2 separate regions of the Homo sapiens genome follow, and region 2 is linked to region 1. Evidence: promoter capture Hi-C in 16 types of primary human blood cells and fetal thymus (Javierre and others, 2016). All regions are on one chromosome and are shown on one strand. Each heading gives the region's core, a stretch centred on a gene start or on the middle of the fragment in contact. The rest is flanking DNA. Distances are from core to core; before and after follow the strand shown. Region 1 overlaps SNX5 (sorting nexin 5). Region 2 holds the start of NAA20 (N-alpha-acetyltransferase 20, NatB catalytic subunit).

The links. The method cuts DNA at HindIII sites, captures the fragments that hold promoters and counts their contacts. A CHiCAGO score of 5 or more calls a contact.
Region 2: the fragment with the promoter of NAA20 here is called in contact with a fragment that was not itself captured in region 1 in 1 of 17 cell types (non-activated CD4 T cells); the score reaches 5.4 in non-activated CD4 T cells.

The regions. Positions count from the first base shown.
Region 1 is chr20:17,963,692-17,966,947 of GRCh38, reverse strand. The region is part of intron 1 of SNX5 (sorting nexin 5); the gene reads left to right. Among named protein-coding and RNA genes, the nearest start is that of SNORD17, 2.4 kb to the right of the region's middle. RefSeq lists an enhancer at 659-738. The HindIII fragment of the contact is 815 bases long and covers 1,136-1,950 here.
Region 2 is chr20:20,015,775-20,019,030 of GRCh38, reverse strand. It overlaps NAA20 (N-alpha-acetyltransferase 20, NatB catalytic subunit), which reads right to left and starts at 1,669. Exons shown (of 6, transcript NM_016100.5): 1 at 1,582-1,669. The coding sequence starts at 1,634. RefSeq lists enhancers at 1-406, 868-1,368, 1,983-2,162 and silencers at 1,423-1,542, 1,593-1,662. The HindIII fragment of the contact is 8,583 bases long and covers 1-3,256 here.

The DNA.
Region 1 (3,256 bases), core at 294-2,793:
TAAAAATAAATAATTACCCTGACGCGTGGCTTTATTTTTGTTTTCTGATCTCTGCTGATGCTGATAACCTGCTGTGGTCTGGCCTAGATGGTGTTATGGTTAACTGAAAGGGAGTTTGGGGCAAGTATGAAATAATGGGAAACTAAGTCTTGGGCAACTTTTTGCCATAATACAATTTCGGTAGTCAACTGAAATGTTTTGTGTGTTACCTGAAATGTGTGTTACTTAAATTGTTTAAATGCCCTCCTGATAATTTACTTTGGTTTGGAATTCTCCCTAAGGATGGAGTTAATTAAGACTCACTAAGGTAGGGGGACATACTTGATTCTTCAGGATTTTGAATTCTAGCCCAATACTCATTTTGGCCAATTCAGCAAAACTGAAAGGGAATACTGTGTCAGTCGTGTCTGGTAGCCAGACACTGGCATTTTGTTACATTCTTTAGCCGAGGGTGTTGGGGTTTGCCTTCTTCCTCAGAAAATAGTTCAGGGGAAGAGATGCATGGTTAATTTGGTTCCTAACTGGTCCTCTATTTACTGGTTTTTGATTTTTTTTTTTTTTTTGAGACGGAGTCTCGCTCTGTCGTCCAGGCTGGAGCGCAATGGCTCGATCTCAGCTCACTGCAACTTCCGCTTTCTGGGTTCAAGCGATTCTCCTGCCTCAGCCTCTCAAGTAGCTGGGATTACAGTCGCTCACCGCCATGCCCGGCTAATTTTTGTATTTTTGTGGAGACCGGGTTTCACCATGTTGGCCAGGCTGGTATTTGAACTCGACCTTCGCAGCCTAGTGCTATTTTTAACTAGGGGGTTCTCCTTCCTTGACAGTAACAACTTGGCCTTAACTTACTGCTTGGTTACAGGGACTTTGGTGAATGATATCTGTCCTCTTACCTACTCAGGAGTGTTTGTAGACTAAGTACTGCTGCTCTGGTTTCGTGTTTAACTGGTGTGGAAGCTGCCTCTAGGGGTATTTTTGTTCTCCATTAGCTAGAATGGAGTGCAGTTGGTTAGTATAGGAACAATCCTGAACTTTGACCAATACCATAGCAAGTCCAAACTTACAAACTTTGTGGACTGAAGCTTTATGCTACCCTTGCAACTATTTTCTAAGTTGAGGAAGTATGACGTATCAAGCTTCCCACGCCTTAGTTCTAGTTCAGTAACTTGTACTCGGTGTCTTAAGATCCCCATTTGTGAATACTCTAAAAGGTCATTATCTGTTCACATTATTTTGGCCATAGGTAGAAATGGCCAAGAGGCTTTTTTTTTTTTTTTTTTGAGACAGGGTCTGGCTCTGTCACCCAGGCGGGAGTGCAGTGTCACGATCACAACTCACTGCAGCCTCGACCTGGGGAGCTCAGGTGATCACCCCCACCTCAGCCTCCTGAGTAGCTGGGGCTACAGGCACACACCAGCATGCCCACCTAATTTTTGTATTTTTTGGTAGAGATGGGGTTTCACCATCCAGTTCAACATGCCGGGATTACAGGCATGAGCCATTGTGCTTGGCCAAGGCTGTTAAGTTTTCTAGATTTGTTTCTGAGCTGTAAACTCCTCATTCGGTGAGACCTAGTGGTCATCTAAACTAGAGGTTGAGTTTAAAATTCAGTTTCTCAACCTGGGGAGCACTGTTGACATTTTAGCCTGATCACTTTTGTTGAGGAGTGCCCTCTGGGTTGTAGGATGTGAAGCAACTGTTTTTGGCCTCTGCTAGGACGCGGCCTCCTCCCCTCCCATGGTGATAAGAAGTCAAAATTGCCTGTTTGAGAATCACTGGTTTAAACGGACTTCCTTCTAAAATGGTGTGATATGGGTGGGGTCAGGTTGTGTTACAGAAGCTAGTCTTTGTGTGCTTGTTGCGAATTTTTCAGGTTTTCTATTAATCTTGCCTAAGGAAATAACATGCCATGTAAAAATTAGCATTGTTGGATATCTTTGTGAGAATAAAGCTTTTCCACTAATACTGAGGAACCTTAACAAAAGGTGGTGAAAGATGGTTTTCTTCAGCAGGTTCTGGGTACTTGAGGGTTGCAAAGGGAGGGCTTCGTGTTTGTGTTTGTGAGTGTAGGCTTTGGACACTGGAAACTTACCTGAGTTTCTTGTGCTGCAGAGGGGAACTTGGTTTAAAATTCTGCTGTTTCAGCATTTTTCTGTCTTTATTATCAGGGTCTTGATGCTCGAGCAAATTAGGTGAGAACAGATCTATAGGTTAGTACCCTGAATGTCTTAAATAGCCCGTGGTCACAACAGTGTGTAGTGAAGTTAAATAGTATTTAAGGAAACAGTCTAACTTTTAATGATCCCAATAGTGAGAAACGGCTATTAAAGTGTAAATTAAGTTTCTCTGCATGATCTAACTTTCCAAAAAGTGGCTTCTTCACCCTTAATACCTGTTTTCTGATTGGCCATTGAGGTACTCTGACAAGATCTCCTAAAAGAGATCTTCACACCTTCACATGCTGCCTAAAGGCAAACCATAGTACCCCAGGAGGAGTAAGTTGCAGTTTGAGGGGCAGCCAACACTTAAGTTTAAAAATGGGGGTCCTTGGCTTGACTCTTCTTTTTACATTTTGGCATAACTTTTTTAGGCATTCCTATATGGTCTGGAGAGAAAACTAATTTTCTGCCTGAAAAGCTCAGTTTCTGAAGGGCACACTCCTAAGCATTCTAGTCATGGTAAATGGTGAGGAATACAAATCCAGATGGCTCCCTTGTCAGGGTTTTCACTTTTTCTTTCAAGAGCACCGCAGAGCTAGGACATTGTGCTGTTAGATACTTGGTAGCTGGTGGGTGATAAAATGTTGGACTTCTTCCCTCACCCTTCCTATATCTTTCATGAATTTTGTTTTGAATTCTTGTATTTATTTTGTTTAGAATTCTTTTTCTCAAGACAGTCTTGCTGTGTTGCCCAAGCTGGTATCGAACTCCTGAGCTCAGGCCATCTTCCTGCACTCAGCCTCCTGAATGGGCCCCTGGTCTGAGTATTGGAATATTTACATCTGAATGATTTGGGAAATTTGCTGTACCTCAAACTCAAGAGTGAAAGAAATGTCCAACCAAAAAGCGGGCAGCCTGCTCTCCATGCTGCCATTTGTATTTCAAACTGAGATGACCAAGGTTAAGTTCAAACAGGCAGCTCTACCACTGTTGCTGAATCGTCTTTCTTGGTAAAGGTAAATTGTCAAACCTATTTCCTGTGCATCTTGGTTTGATCATGAAGTGAGACCATGAAGGAAGGCAGTAAATGTCCTTCAACA
Region 2 (3,256 bases), core at 420-2,919, 2.1 Mb before region 1:
TCCAGAGGCTCCAGGTGGGTTAAGACCCACTCCAGAGCAGTGGATCGCAAACGGAATGTGCGTTTCTAACATGGTCCCCTGACCACAGGCACCAAGTCTTTCAGAACCACTGCTCCAGAGCCAATATCCTTGGATGAAGTTCCTCGCTTTACTCATTCTCACCTGGGCCAATTCACTTGTGCTTGCCATGCCTTGGTTTACTCATACACAAAATGGGGGTGACAGCACCTCAAAGAATCGTGAGGATTAACTGGATTATTACGTGGGCACTCAGAACAATGCAGGGAACAGTGAGTTCAACACAAGTCACCGTAGCTACCAGACTGGCCCAACAGAAAATTCTTTCCACAGGATCAAGTCTAAACCCCTCCTGTTTCACCCATTTCTTCCTGACTGCTCAGTGGCAGAAACCAGCCACTAGATTCGCACTGATCCCAGTTGTCTGACCGCACTTCAAGTTTCCCCATTTTCATGCCCCGCTCCTTCTCCGGAACTTCCGTCTTCCTCACTTACCAATGTGTTATCCATCTTCAAGGCTCACCCCCTCTTTGAAATGTTCCCAGCCATCTTATCCCATAGTTCTTTCCATCTTCCTGACACTTGAATCGGAACCACTTTGTCCTTAGTTTTCACATACCGCCCTGTTGTTTTTTTAAAGTGGATCCAGGACTGATAGATGGGAAGGAAGGAGAGATACCAGCGTAGCAAAATGTTAACTGCAGAATCCAGGAAAAGTGTCTATAAAAGCACATGGTGAAATTCCTCCAACTTTTCTAAATGTGTGGGAATCTTCATAATAAAATGTTTTCTTAAAAAAAAAAAATTGGTACCTGCAAATCAGAGGTCTGGCCTTAACTCGAATCCAAAGAAACTGCATCCAGGGCTCTGGGCACAGCGAGCCTCCCCTAAGATCTGCCGTGACTCCTCACAGAGGAAAGGTGTGTACACCGGGGTGCGCAGCTACAGTAACTAAACTTGCAAACACTAACCATGACTGAGACAGCATCTGCTGCAGGGGACGCAGTGATCAGTGTCATTTCATTTGGATACAATTTAACCACGGCCACCAGGTGGGCTTCACGATGTACACATCCCAACAGCTGCTGACCAGCTTCCGATCCTCGCAAGCCCCCTCTGCGGCCTGGCCGTCGGCGGTGCCCTCTGCCCAGAAGAGGCGCGGCCCGGCCACGAACCAGCAAGCAGTAGGGCAGGGCGAGAAGCCCAGGTCGTGGGCTCCAGGCCGCGTCTCCAGCTCGCCCCATCACCCCAGCGCCTCCTGACAGCGACCACGAGCGGAGGCCCGAGCGCTGCCCCAGAACCTGCCAGCTCGCAGGGTCCAGAGACAAAGTTTGAGCACCTCGGCCAAGGTCGCCAAGGCCGGCGTGCGTCGACTCCAGGCCCACCTCTCCCTGGACCCTGTGGCCCCAGGGAGGCGCCCACGTTGGCCGGCGGGGGGTGGTTCTCGCGGGTCCCCGTCCGGGCTTGGGGTCCGGCCGGGAAGGCGCGGCTGGGGCCGGAGCTGGCGGGGCCGGGAAGCGAGGCCCGGCCAAGAGCGGCTGGCCCTAGGCGCGTGTCACTCACATGTTGTTGAAGCGGAACAGGTCGTCGCAGGTAAAGGCCCGTAGCGTGGTCATCGCGCCGCCGCCGCTTCCGAAGACCGTTCGCCAAGACCCCGCGCCCGCCCTGCCGGAAGTCTCCCGGAGCGTGGCCGCCGCGGAACCGAGCGAGACGGGGTACTGCTTCCGGGCTACGAGTTGCTGGGCAACGACAGCAGCAAAGCAGCTTCCTCTGGCGGCCGGCGGCGGGAATTGCCAGGTCGCTCCTGTAAGGCCTCCGGGGCTGTGGCTGCCCAGAACCTCGGAACCCCTCCCAGGCAGCGGCTGCAGAAAGCAGGCGGCGACACCTGGGAAGGAAAGAAGCTGCTGGTGATGCGGAAACCCAAGCAGAAGAGCGGAGTTCGCAGCCACCCGGTGCTGCAGAGTAAATGAGGAATGGGAGAATTTATGACCCAGAATCCCTTGTCCCAGTGTTGCGAGTTGCAGATGTCATCTTAAAATGTCAATACCACGTTTAAAAACAAAAAGAAGGCCGGGCGCGGTGGCTCACGCCTGTAATCCCAACACTGGGAGGCCAAGGCGGGCAGATCACTTGAGTTCAGCAGTTCGAGACCAACCTGGCCAACATGGCGAAACCCCCTCTCTACTAAAAAAAAAAAAAAAAGGAAAGAAATAAAAATTAGCTGGGCGTGGTGGCACGCGCCTCTAATCCCAGCTACTTGGAGGCTGAGGCAGGAGAATCGCTTGAACCCAGGAGGCGGAGGTTGCAGTGAGCCGAGATCTCGCCACTGCACTCCAGCCTGGGCGACAGAGCTAGACTTGGTCTCAAAAATAAATAATAAATAAATAAAAGCAAAACGAAATGTAAAATTGATTTTGATAGTACGCTTTATTTTACCCATTTATTTTTCCTATTTGGGAAAAATATTTTTCCCTGACCCCACTTTATTATACCCGAAATATCATTTCAACATGTAACCAATCAATACTCAACATGTAATCAATCAATAAAAAAAGGAATGTGATATGTTACATTCTTTTTTGCAAAGACTTTGAAATCCGGTGTGTATTTTACATTTGCAGTGCATTTCAATCTGAGAGAGCAGCTGTCATCGGAAATGCTTGTTCTCTATTTAGATTTCATCAATGTATGGTTAAAAAGCAGATTCTCATATCCAAGCGGTTCCAAATATACTGTTTTCAAATCGCTGAACCAAACATCAGTTTTTAAATTTAAAGTAGTTAAAATTAAAAGTTAAAAATTCCTTTATTCAGACCAGACACAGTGGCTCACACCTGTAATCCCAGCTACTTGGGAGGCTGAGGTGGGAGGATCATTTGAGCCCGGGAGGTAGAGGTTGCTCTGAGACATGATTGCACCACTGCACTCCAGCCTGGGTGACACACCAAGACCCTGTCTCAAAAAGATAAGATAAAGAGAGATAAAATACATAAAGCAAGCAGGAATGCTGAAATGTATTTACACATGAGTGTTAAACTGGTCAATATCCACAGAGCTGTAATCACTGTCTCTCCTGGGCACTGTATAACACTATGCATTTGTATTTTATGGACAAGAAAAATTTTCATTACTATCAATTTTCCTCAGCTTACAAATTTGTAAAATTTTGTATTGTCAAAGACAATAAAAAGCAGAGAAAACCTGGAAACGTGTACTAAACAGTAATCTTTTTCTGGCC